Linked DNA regions of Homo sapiens: all the other regions are linked to region 1. Evidence: promoter capture Hi-C in human tissues and cell types (Jung and others, 2019). All regions are on one chromosome and are shown on one strand. The core of a region is centred on a gene start or on the middle of the fragment in contact, and the rest is flanking DNA. Distances in the headings are between cores, read along the strand shown.

Region 1 (3,949 bases), core at 612-3,111:
CTTGGTTAAGGCAGTAGCTGCCAGGTGTCCCCACTGTCTTGGAGACAGCTTTGCTCTCCATGGACGTAGGGTATGCAAGAAGCAGGGGAACCTTTGGCTAAAGATACATTGTGATGGCCGGGCGCAGTGGCTCACGCCTGTAATCTCAGCACTTTGGGAGGGTGAGGTGGGTGGATCACTTGAGGTCAGGAGTTTGAGACCAGCCTAGCCAACATAGTGAAACCCTGTCTCTACTAAAAATACAAAGATTAGCCGGGCATGGTGGCACATGCCTGTAATCCCAGCTACTTGGGAGGCTGAGGCAGGAGAATCGTTTGCTTGAACCCGGGAGGTGAAGGGTGCAGTGAGTTGAGATTGTGCCATTGCACTCCAGCCTGGGCAACAAGAGCAAAACTCCATCTCAAAAAAAAAAAAAAAAAAAAAGATATGTTGTGATATTGTGTTGTGATATATTTTTAAAAAACCATATTTTGGTCTTAGGTTTTCTAGTACATAACTCCTAAAACCCTTGAAATCAGCTGGGCACAGTGGTTTATGCCTGTAATCCCAGCACTTTGGGAGGCCAAGACGGGATGATCCCTTGAGGTCAGGAGTTTTCGAGCAGCCTGGGCAACATAGTGAGACCCCATCTCTACAAAAAAAATTTTTTTAATGAAGACAATAAAAAAAAACTATCTTCTAGATTGTTCAGAGGATTAAATGGGCTGGCCAGGGGTGGGGGCTCACACCTGTCCTCCCAACACTTTGGGAAGCAGAGGTGGGAGGATCACTTGAGCCCAGGTGTTGGAGACCAGCCTGGACAACTTGGTGAAACTCCGTCCCTACAAAAAATACAAAAAATTAGGCCGGGCGCGGTGGCTTATGCCCGTAATTCCAGCACTTTGGGAGGCCTAGGCGGGCGGATCACCTGAGGTCAGGAGTTCGCAACCAGCCTGGCCAACATAGTGAAACCTCGTCTCTACTAAAAATACAAAAAATTAGGCAGGCGTGGTGGCGCACGCCTGTAGTCCTAGCTACATGAGAGGCTGAGGTGAGAGGATCATCTGAGCCCGGGGTCGAGGCTGCAGTGAACCGTGATCACGCCACTGCACTCCAGCCTGGGTGACAAAGTGAGACTCTGTCTAAAAAAATAAAATAAATGAGGTAATGTATACGAATATGATGCACGGAGCGGACCTTCAACAATTATTTTTATTGCTATGATCTGCATAATTGGCACAACAGGGCCCTGCCACATCGAACTGTTTAAGCTCAGAACCGTGTCTGTCACATGTGGAGCGATCCATGATTGATGCTATCATTATCACCACCATCATCCCACCAACCCGCCCATCGGAAACAAGCTTTCATCGAATCCCATCGTTTTTTCCTTTTTTGTAAATCTCTTTCCTCGGCCTGGCTCTGCCGCCCAAGTATGCTCGTCAGGCCTTTGCCCACCTGGACCGGGCGCGGGCAGCCCGGGGCTGAGGATTCTCGAGCCTTGGTGGACCACAGGCTCCCGTCGCCCCGCCCAAGGGCCTGGACCGCCTGTGGTCTCCATGGAAACCCGCCAGCCACAGGGGGCGTGACGCCGTTGAGACAGACAGAGATATTCACCTATCAGATCAAAGTTATCTGGGCAGGGCGAACAAACGGGACCTCCGAGTGGTACGTCCTTAAGGCGGGGCGGGAATACGGCAACGGGCCGCGGGGGCTGTTACTGTCGCTACCAATCAAGAGTCGAGATGGCTTTGATGGACAGGCATAGCGCGAGTGCGGGCTTTCGCCCAACCGGCGGGCCGCTGTCCCGAAAAAGGACCAATGAGGAGGCGGCAGGGGTGGGGCGAAGGGGCCGGTTGCTCCGGAAGTGGAGGGAGGGGGTGAAAATGGCGCCCAGCTCGAAATCGGAGCGGAACAGCGGGGCTGGGAGCGGCGGCGGCGGCCCCGGGGGAGCCGGAGGGAAGCGGGCAGCAGGGCGGCGGCGGGAGCACGTCCTCAAGCAGCTGGAGCGGGTCAAGGTGAGGCCTGGAGCCGGAGTGGGGAGCGCGCCGGAGGGTGGGGAGTAGGGACGAGGGAGGCGGAGGGAGGAGGGCGTTCGCGGGGTGAGGGGTTGGGGGCGGGGCCCCAGGGGAGGGGGCTCGGATGCAGGGCCTGGGCGGGGCCCGGGGGAGATGGCTTGGATGGAGGGGGCTCAGTTGGGGGCCTGGATGCAGGTGGTTGTGTCGGGTGACCGGCAAAGGGGCTGGGATGGAGGGGGTTGGGGGCGGGGCCCCAGGGAGGGGGCTCGGAGGGAGGCGACCCCAGAGGCCGCAGGGAGAATCAGGAGGAAGGGGGCGATCCAGGCTTTTCAAAGCTCTGCTCCCATGGTTGCTCCATAATGGAACCTTCCCGCCCCCTTTGCAGAGCCCCTGCCGCTGGCTTTGGGCTTCCTCCGCCTGATGTTCCTCTCCCTGCCCAAGCCCCGACCACACATGAGCTGGGAGTTCCAGTACCTGGGTGGGCCTCCCCATTGAAAGTGTGGGAGCTCCCTGGATAGGGCTGAGTCTTCCCCCGCAGAGTGAGAGTTACCGAAGCAGGCTCTGTCTCCTCCATCAGACTGGAAACTCCCAGAGCTGGGGGATGATGTCTCTCTCCCCCATCAGTTTGGGAGCTCTGGAGGGCAGAAATGTGGATCTCTTGCAGGTGGGCAGTAACTGGGGCAAGGCTGTGTCTCTGTGGACAGGGACTGCGCCTTCTCCGTGAGGCTGGTAGCTTTGTAAGGGCAGTGCTGTGTCTCCCCCTTTTGACTGGGAGCTCCCTGGGCTGGGACAGTCTCCGCCCTTAGCCTGGGAGCTCCCTGGGCTTGGCTGTGGTTCCGCCCTTAGCTTGGAAGCTCCTTGGGCAGGGACTGTGTCTCCCCTGTCGGCCTGGGCCTGGCTGGCCAGGCTGTTTCCTCCGTCAGACTGAGACCTCCATGTGGACAGGGCTGTCTCCCATCAGACAGGGAGCTTCCCAGACAGGACTCTTCCCATCAGATTGGAATGTCTTGAAGGCAGAGTTGGGTAGCAAGACTGAGGCTGTTCGGATATCCCTGTGCCTGGCTTCTGCCTGTCAGTCCCCGCAGATCCTTCCGCGGTGAAGTTTTGGGGATGAGGGATTCCCTTGGATTCCGTTGGAAGGCGGTAGTTAATTGGGAAGGGGGCGTTGGGTCATTGGTTAGGCTCACCCTTCTATCTGCCTCGACTGGCCCCCAGCAGAGGCCAGAGCTGCCCCGGGGAGGAGGAGCCCCCTTGTTTGAAGGCTGGTGGGTTGGGAACAGATGGGTGCAGGTCAGGACTCTGTCCCAGCCTCCTTAGTAGGATAAATACCCACAGCTTAGGGACAGCCTTCAGGGAGGGAAGCAGGTGGCCCAGCGTGGGACAGGGTGATTGGGGAACTTTCTTGGGGGCGGTGACGCTGGGCTCAGTCAAGAGGGACCTGAGGCTGAAGAGGTATGGAACTGGGAAGGTGGCCTGGGTCCCTGGTGGAGATGAAGGCTCAAGCGCGGTCCATCTGGCTTTACTGTCCCCATCTGCCTCAGTTGTTCCCACCTTCCAGAGCTTGGCCTTCTTTTGACCATTATGGTGGGCTGGGCCGGTCTGGACCCGGTGAGAGCCGCTCTGCCTCTCTGCCGTGGGTGAGGGGGCTGGGGGCTGCAGATGGTGCCTGAAGTGCCCTGGCCACCCCTTCCCCAGATCAGCGGACAGCTCTCCCCTCGCCTCTTCCGGAAGCTGCCTCCCCGGGTGTGCGTGTCCCTCAAGAACATTGTGGATGAGGACTTCCTCTATGCAGGGTGAGGCTGGGCCCAGGCAAAGGGGGCAGGTGGGCGGGAGTGGTGGGCTCGCCCTGACCTGGCCGCTGTGCCCCCTCCACCCCCACAGACATATCTTCCTGGGCTTTTCCAAATGCGGCCGCTACGTCCTCTCCTACACCAGCAGCAGTGGGGATGACG
Region 2 (3,949 bases), core at 434-2,933, 840 kb before region 1:
ATGCTACTTATTTCTGGCACAGAGTATGGATCATACCATAATTATCTATTACTCATCACAGCAACCCCTGTAAAACTAATTTTCTCAGTTGACAGACAAGGAAACTGGGGCTCAAAGAGGCTAAGTCACTCACTCAAGGTCACAGAGTGAGAATGTGACAGAGCCAGAATTTGACCCCAGGCAGGCTTGTCCCAGAGCTAGGCTGTGATGCCCAGAACCTACCGGGCATCTGCTTGGCTCGGCTGTACCAGGTGGGCCACGTCATTGAGCTGGACATTCCGGCGTATGAGATCCACAGCCCGGGTGGAGGCATCGTTTGCAACCACAGATCTGAGCCCAGGCACCTCTAGGGCAAATCGAATGGAACGTAGGCCTGAAGCTGCCAGGCCTTCCAGCACATGCAGGCCTTCCTGTTGGAGTAAGCAGAAAACCTCCCTCACATCTCCACCTCCATCCTCTTCTGGGCCCCAAGGAGCCCCCACCACCCACCTCCTATAGCTCTCCCCCTCCAGGAGCCCTCTGTCTCCCGCTAAATTCCAGGGCTGCCAGCTCCTATGCTCAGGCCCCACCTCACAGATCTCCCCCACGGCCGCTGTGCGAGGTTGGTCTCCTGAGGCCAGGTTTTCACTCTCTTTCAGTTCAACCTTTTCCTCCTCTTGCTCTGACAAGTCCACGACCACTTTTTGCGTGTCCTTCTCTCCTGGAACCTTGACTGCAGCCACCCAGAGGCACAAGTCAGAGAATAACAAGGTCCCCTCTGAGAAACCTCCCCTTAATCTCCAAAATATCGTCCCTGAAATCCCTGCGGAAAGGCTGAAGGAGCAGAACCCAGGGCCTGCTATGTGGCTGAAGCCCCTCTGGATTTGGGCGGCAGAAGAGCCCAGGCAGGGAGATAAACTTGTGTGACCCCCGCCCACCAGAAGCCTGGACCTCCACTCACTCTGGATTCCTTTGGCCCCAAGCTGAATGCGAGCAAACTCGGTGATCACAGCACATCTGGTGGGAGACAGAGGACTAGCTCATACCCCGCCCCCGCCATCCACACTGACCCACTAGCCGATGCCAGGCTAACGTCTGACCCCTGCTCACGTCAGGTCCCGATTGAATTCCTGCACCGGGTTATAAAAGACCTCGTTGGCACTGGGAAAGGCGATTTTGGCAGCCCCCTCGGTGACTGTCGTCTCCTGGACTTCACGTGGACGTTCTTCTCCGTAGGGCCCGGTGCCGTTCTCCATCGCTGCTGTATTCGGCAGCCCTGGAGACTGCCACTCGAAAAACCGGGCTCTAGAGAGCACCCGGGCGGAGCGGAAAGTGAGGCTTAGCCACAGAGACGATCCTTGCATGAGACATCCGCTGGCGCCTCCGCCCGCCAAGCCTGGTTCGGGGGGCGGGGGAGGGCACAGAGAGGGTCAGAGAGCCGCATTCCGGGCCCGGGGATGTCCTACATATCTATGAGGTAGGGACTAGGAAAACCTGCGGCCTCGGTAAGCTGATATCCCCTCGTTTTGGGGATGACTGGTCCCTGTGGAGCCGATGCCCTCGTGCAGGCCCGCCCCGAGTCCGAATCCCTCCCCGCGCTGCCTAGCCCGTCCTCACCTGCTCTCGTAGCCACAGAAAACCGAATTAGTCAAGGTGCACGTTTCCCGAATTAGGACCTGGGCGCCGCCATGTTGGCACAGTGGGTGGGCGAATCACATGATAGTGGTTGGCCAGTCAATGAGGAAACGTACGGTGGGCGGCCGGGATCAAAATGAAAGCCATAAAGGAAGCGCGCTGATCGTGCTGTTCCGGGGGTGTTAATCACAGTGGATCCCCTGGGAGAGGACACGTCCCTAGTCCCATTTCACAGATGAGGAAGTTGTGGCTCAGAAAAGGGGCGGTAAGCGGAGAAACCCAACACTTATTGGTCCTCTTCTGTGTTCTGGGTGCTATATACACATTATTTCAGAGCACCCTGCAGGAATGACTCAGGCTCTGGAGTTGGATTTACCGGGTTTGAATCTCAGTCCCATCACATGCTCTGGGCAGGTTACTCCCGCGGCTTCACTTTTCTTACCTATTAAATGAGAATCGTGGTTTCTCAGATAGAGCAAAGATTAAATGACAGATTCCTGGAAAGTGTGCAAAGAACCACTCTAACATTGTAAGCGCTCGGTAAAGTTCTAACCAGTGTATGAAGGCAGGACAGCGAAGTGGTCCCGGCTACCTGGGTTCCAGTCTCAGCTCGCCCTGCGACTTGTTAACTCTGAACTTAAGTTACCGCTTTTGCAAAATGGGCAGAACTTTTTTTTACCATTTGTTACTGGGTTGTAGTGAGAAGTAAACGAGTTAGTGCAGGTAAAATGCTAACAGAACCTAGCATCCGGTAAGCATCATAAAAGTCTTAGGTCTTATTGTCGCTTTTGAGCCTGTGTTTAAATCCTGGCACCTACCATCACTTCCTTGCTGTGTGATGATCTTGACCAGCTTTCTTCATTTCTCTGTGCCTCCTTTTCTTTCTTTCTTTCTTTTTTTTTTTTTTTTGAGACGGAGTCTCGCCCAGGCTGGAGTGCAGTGGCATGATCTCGGCTCACTGCAACCACCGCCTCCCGGGTGCAAGCGATTCTTCTGCCTCAGTCTCCCGAGTAGCTGGGATTACAAGCGCATGCCATCACGCCCGGCTAATTTTTGTATTTTTAGTAGAGACAGAGTTTCACCATATTGGCCAGGCTGGTTTCGAACTCCTGACCTCAGGCGATCCACCCACCTCGGTCTCCCAAAGTGCTGGGATTACAGGCGTGAGACACCGCGCCCAGCTGCCTTTATTTTCTATAGTGTGTCTGTAGCAGTTCTCACTAAAAAATGTTACTGTGTAGTTTAAACGAGCTAATTCCCATAAAGAATGTAACGCAGTGCCTGCCACAATAAACAGCAGTCATTATTGTTTTTGTTTTACAGGAAACTAAAGTTCGGAAAGGTAGAGCGACTTGCCCAAGGTCGCGGGACTAGAAGGTGGCGGGGCCAGGATTCGAACCATCGAGCTGAGCCGACGTACTGGCGAGGATCCCCCAGGGGCATAGAGAGGAGACGGAGCCGGTTAGAAGGGGCGCGCTCGGAGCTCGGCTGGCCTCGCCTGGAGGGCGGGGCCCGAGGGCGGTGCGCGGGCGGGGCCGGGGCCGCTCCTCCCTGGCCTGGCTGCGGCGGCAGCGCGGCTTGCGCTCGCTCGGCGCTCGGCTGGGGCGGCCTGGCCCACAATGAATGGCCGCCGCGGCTGCCGCTGCTGCTGAGGCGGAGGCCGCGGAGGCCGCGGAGGCGGAGGCCGAGGCCCCGGCGCAGCGGGGCGCGCCCCGGGCCCAGGCCCGGCCCCAGCCGCCGCTGCGGAGCCCGCCGGGACCCCCCGGAGCGCGGCCACGGCGCAGGTGAGGCGGCCCGCCTCAGGCCCGGTTCCGGCCTCCTCCAGCCGGGGCGGCCCGAGGGCTGAGTGGGGAGGGCCTGGGTGCTTTCTCGGACCGAGGAGGAGCCGGGCCCGCAGCCTGCACTGTGCCCGGGCAGGCGAGTGTGTGGAGGCCCAGCTACCGCGGGCGGCCTTGAGCGTCCAGCCCGAGCTTCAGGGCTTGGGGGCGGCAGGATCGTACCTGGACCGCTCCCCCGTCTCCCAGCGAGGGAGGGGGCCAGGTCGGGCCGGGGCAGGTACCGGGGATCCGGGGAAGTTGGAGGGTCCGAGGCGGAAAAGTGAGGAGGTTCTCGTGGATGCCGGAGGGGGAGGGGGAGGGGGAGGAGGAGTCGGGCTCCGGCCAGGCCGAGTGGGGGAGGAGAGGAGAGCGGCGCGGCCGGAGGGGGGCGGGGAGGGGCCGGGCCTGCAGGTACCGCCTGGGCGCTGGAGGAGGTGGGTGGGTCAAGTTACAGGCCTGGGGGCGGCTGAGGAGAAGCCCAGGAAGTGGGGCACGGCGGGTGTGGGCGGAGTTACTTC
Region 3 (3,949 bases), core at 983-3,482, 540 kb after region 1:
AGGTGATCTGCCTGCCTCGGCCTCCCAAAGTGCTGGGATTACAGGCATAAGCCACCACGCCTGGCCTATTTTTATTTTTTTTTGAGATGGAGTCTCGCTCTGTAGCCCAGGCTGGAGTGCAGTGGCACGATCTCAGCTCACTGCAACCTCCGCCTCCCGGGTTCAAGCGATTCTCCTGCCTCAGCCTCCTGAGTAGCTGGGCTTACAGGCGTGCGCCACCACACCCAGCTAATTTTCATATTTTTAGGAGAGAGGGGGTTTCACCATGTTGATCAGGCTGGTCTCAAACTCCTGACCTCTTGACCCACCTGTCTCAGCCTCCCAAAGTGCTGGGATTACAGGGGTGAGCCATGCCCCTAGCCAATTTTTGTATTTTTAGTAGAGACAGGGTTTCCCCATGTTGGCCAGGCTGGTCTCAAACTCCTGACCTCAAGCAACCCACCCGCCTCGGCCTCCCAAAGTGCTGGGATTACAGGCGTGAGCCACCGCGCCCGGGCCCCCTTGCCTGATCTTTGCTGGGCTGGCACCCCTTGCCCACAACTACTCTCTACAGTACCACCCGCTCATATTTTATTCATAGCAGTTAGTGCCATCTGAAATTATCTTCTTTATTTACTTGCTAACTTGTTTGTTGGCTGCTTCCTTCCTTTCAGAGTGCCAACTCCTCAAAAGTAGGGATTTTGTTTTGTTCACTGTTGCATTTTCTGTGCCAAGAACAGTGCCTAGCACATGCACGTAGCAGGTGCTCACTAAATATTTGTAGACTGAGTGAATGAATGTGTCTCAGGTCCTCGTTCTGATTGCTCTCTGTGCTCCCCATCCTTGAAACAGCCCCCTAAACATGCCTGCTGTGCGGTTGCCAACTGTCCTAGGCTCCCCACTTTCCCTGGCTCCCCTCACACCTGAACACAGAGATGAAGAGCCACTTCAGCCCGGATATTGAGTGTTTGGGCTGGAATTTCAGCATCCTCACCCCCTCATCCTGGGAAGGGCCTGAAACTTAGCAACCCCACGGCCACACAGAAGCAGTGTGGCCAGCAGGAGGAGGGGAAGGGGGTTCCTGGGAGCACACAGAAGCTAGGGGAAGGGGGAAACCACGCCCAGGCTCCCCGTTCCAGCACAGTGTTGCTTTGGAGAGAAGGAGGGAAAGAGGCCTCTGATTCACTCTTGAAAAACCGGCTCCTGGGTGTTTCCGGGGAGAACGCCTACTTCCCAGCCTCGGCCCAGGTTGCCAGGGGGGAACCCAGTGGGCCCAGACCCCAGCATCCTGGCCCCCTGCAGACGCCACTCTCTTCTCTGGACCCAGGTAGTTAGACCTGCCCTCTCCAGCTCTGGGGAGAAGGGAAAGGAGGGCAGCTTCCTGTTTGAGTGGCTGGTAAAGCAAAAGACCAGCAGGTGTGGCCCTGATGATGAGTACGGGGTAGGGGGTGGGAGGGGTAGGGGGCCGGAGCTACTCAGCAACAACTGAGCCGTGGAGTTATTGGTATCCAGTCTAGTGGGTGTGACTCCAGTTCTGGACCCTGGGGCATGAGTTCCAGTCCCAGATGTGCCAGTTACTAGCTGTGTGACCTTGGGCAAGTCACTCCACCTCTCTGGGTAGGCTGCCTCACCTTTTTTACAAGAAGGCACAGCACCTCCCATGAGGTGTTTAGAGTCAATTATCCTCATGGTAAATGCCTGACACGGAAGCTCTCCAATAAATGCTAGCTGAGGTGGAGTTTTTCATGACGATTATTATTCAGACCGTGGTCCTCACTGCGTCCCCCCCAAGGCCCTGGAGGGTTCAGACGCGGTTAGCTCAGGGGAAGTGCCCAGGAAAGGGTCAGAAACACTGACCCCGCGCCTGTCCACGCTGGGATGGGGACAGTCCAGCCGGGGGACGGGGGGAGGGGCAAGCCCAGAAACCCCAGCCCAGCGTTGGGAGGCGTTTGTCCCCTGCCCGCCAGCAGGAAGGGAGCTGCCCCCACCACCCCCCACCCCCGCTTCCCCTGGGAAGGGGCCTCCGGCATCCCCGCGCGCAGCCTAGACCTCCAGTCGCGTCCACGGCGCCGGCCCCACCCTGCAGGATCGGCCGGATCCTCGCAGGCCCGCGACCCCCGAGGCCCCCGGAGCAGACACATCCTTCTCGCAGAGGCCACTCACCTGCTCCGCCGCCGCCGCCGCCGCCGCCGCCGCCGCCGCTGCCTCCGCCTCCCCGTGCGCACCCGGCTCGGCCCTCCGCAAACTCCAGACCGGGCCTCTCCCGCAGCGGCGCCTGGGGGGCGGGGCCGACGCCCGCGGCCGGCCAATCAGCGGCTGCCTCTCGGTGCTCGCAGCCAATCCGCGTCTTCCGCTTCGGGTGGACCCGACGGAAACATTCCAGAGGGATCCCTCCGCCTCGCCCGGCTCTTCCCGACTCCTCCCCTCGCCGCGAAGCAGTGGACCGTTCCGCCCCGCCTAAGCCGCGGCTGGCTGTACCACCGGAGGGCTGAGGAGGGGGGGGAGCTGCAGCTGGGCCCCGGCCAATCGCGAGGGAGGAAGGAGACAAGCGGCCAATGGGAAGGAAGCTGGGGCCCCTGAACCACGTGCTGTCGGCTGAGTGTCAGTCTCGGGTGCCCTGGGTGGTGAGGGGCGGGGGAGTCAGGTGACCTAGGCCAGGTTTCGGGGAAAGGATTCGAACTTCCGACGTCCAGGAAAGCGGACAGTTTAGGAGACCTGGGTGGGGGTCAATGGCAGTCCCCAACCCAGTTCCCTGCCCGGCCTCCTCTGCCCCAGCCTGGCCATCCTCGGAGCGGATAAAAAGATGCATTCAATCTCTGGGGGCGGGCGGGGGATCGAGATGAATAGGGAGGGTCCCGAGTTTCCCTGCTTCCTGGGCTGTACAATGGACAAAGGCATTCATTCATTCATTCGTTCACTCACTCATCAAATATTTAATGTGCCAGACTGCTCCGTGCCAGACTCTGTCCTACCTCTGAAGACGCGTCAGTGAATAAGCTGAATGTGCTCCTGGTAGAGGTAACAGAGCGTGCAAAAGCCGGACAGAGAGATACAGCACGCTTTAGGATACTGCAATATCGTGGGAGCTAGTAAATCAGTGTGGAAAGGCAAGATGCAATGAAAGACAAGGGTGAGATAGTTTATCTGCTTGTTGGTTTGTTTATGTGCTAGGTCACAGAAGGTACCCAGCCAGCCTTTCATAGATCTGTCTCCTCCATCTGACTGTGAGGGTGGAGGCTGAGTCTCTCTTGTCAACCCCTCACTCCCACCTCAGGCTGCCACACGGCAGGTTCTCAGCAAACCTGTGTGGACAAATAGACCATGTAGTTTATAAGGAAGGGGGATTTATCAGGTGGACACAGATCCAAGAAACAAGAGTCACAAATGCACCTGGACCAGGCCAGGACGCTCAGTTCCCGGGACAAGTGAGATTTCCTTGTTCTAGTTCAAACCCAGCCACTTGGACAGCAACTGGGGCTGAATGCTGTGTGTTCTGGGAACTGTAGTTCCTGGAAGCCTCTAAGTGCTGAGACCCTGCTCAAGCTCCATAGAAAGACTGGTTCTTTGCAGTTCCCAGGGTGAGATGTTGTGCATATCAGTCCCACCAGGACCTGCAGAGGGGCAAACTAAAATGGGAGATGGAACCTTGAGCTTTGCTGCTGAGGATTGCCTAGCCAGCCCCACCCAGCTGGCAAACACCGAGATTGCTGTGGCAGGCCAGGCAACAGGCACAGCTATTGTCCGTCCCTTCCTGTTCTGCTGACCTCTGCCATCCCACTGAGCAATCAGTTGCCTGGGCTGGCCAGTACCCTCTGTGGGACTGTGCTGCCTGCCCTGCTTGAGCCTGGCATCTAAGCTGCCCCCTGCACACTTGGAGAGGACGGGATGCTGAGCCCAGGGGACAGCATGACTGAGGCTGCAGAGTCCTGAGCCAGACTCCAACTGGCTCCTGTTTCCTGATGAGGAAGTG

Evidence for each region. The method cuts DNA at HindIII sites, captures the fragments that hold promoters and counts their contacts. A contact is called where the count stands out against the background at its distance.
Region 2: a contact is called between the fragment with the promoter of TRMT1 here and the fragment with the promoter of DCAF15 in region 1, in 2 of the 25 tissues and cell types used here (H1 embryonic stem cells and lymphoblastoid cells).
Region 3: a contact is called between the fragment with the promoter of GIPC1 here and the fragment with the promoter of DCAF15 in region 1, in 1 of the 25 tissues and cell types used here (spleen).

What each region holds. Positions count from the first base shown.
Region 1 is chr19:13,950,648-13,954,596 of GRCh38, forward strand. DCAF15 (DDB1 and CUL4 associated factor 15) reads left to right here and starts at 1,862. Exons shown (of 13, transcript NM_138353.4): 1 at 1,862-1,997; 2 at 3,693-3,790; 3 at 3,879-3,949. The coding sequence starts at 1,866. It also overlaps a transcript of PODNL1 not described here. RefSeq lists an enhancer at 1,235-1,284 and a silencer at 1,945-2,084. The HindIII fragment of the contact is 40,615 bases long and covers 1-3,949 here.
Region 2 is chr19:13,115,057-13,119,005 of GRCh38, forward strand. It overlaps TRMT1 (tRNA methyltransferase 1), which reads right to left and starts at 1,684. Exons shown (of 17, transcript NM_001136035.4): 1 at 1,597-1,684; 2 at 1,090-1,375; 3 at 941-996; 4 at 570-712; 5 at 223-410. The coding sequence starts at 1,343. It overlaps NACC1 (nucleus accumbens associated 1), which reads left to right and starts at 3,208. Exons shown (of 6, transcript NM_052876.4): 1 at 3,208-3,398. RefSeq lists enhancers at 1,678-1,867, 2,828-2,977 and silencers at 3,018-3,217, 3,768-3,817. The HindIII fragment of the contact is 33,521 bases long and covers 1-3,949 here.
Region 3 is chr19:14,493,895-14,497,843 of GRCh38, forward strand. GIPC1 (GIPC PDZ domain containing family member 1) reads right to left here and starts at 2,233. Exons shown (of 9, transcript NM_005716.4): 1 at 2,143-2,233. RefSeq lists enhancers at 1,548-2,474, 3,755-3,949 and silencers at 2,137-2,366, 2,507-2,566. The HindIII fragment of the contact is 12,252 bases long and covers 1-3,949 here.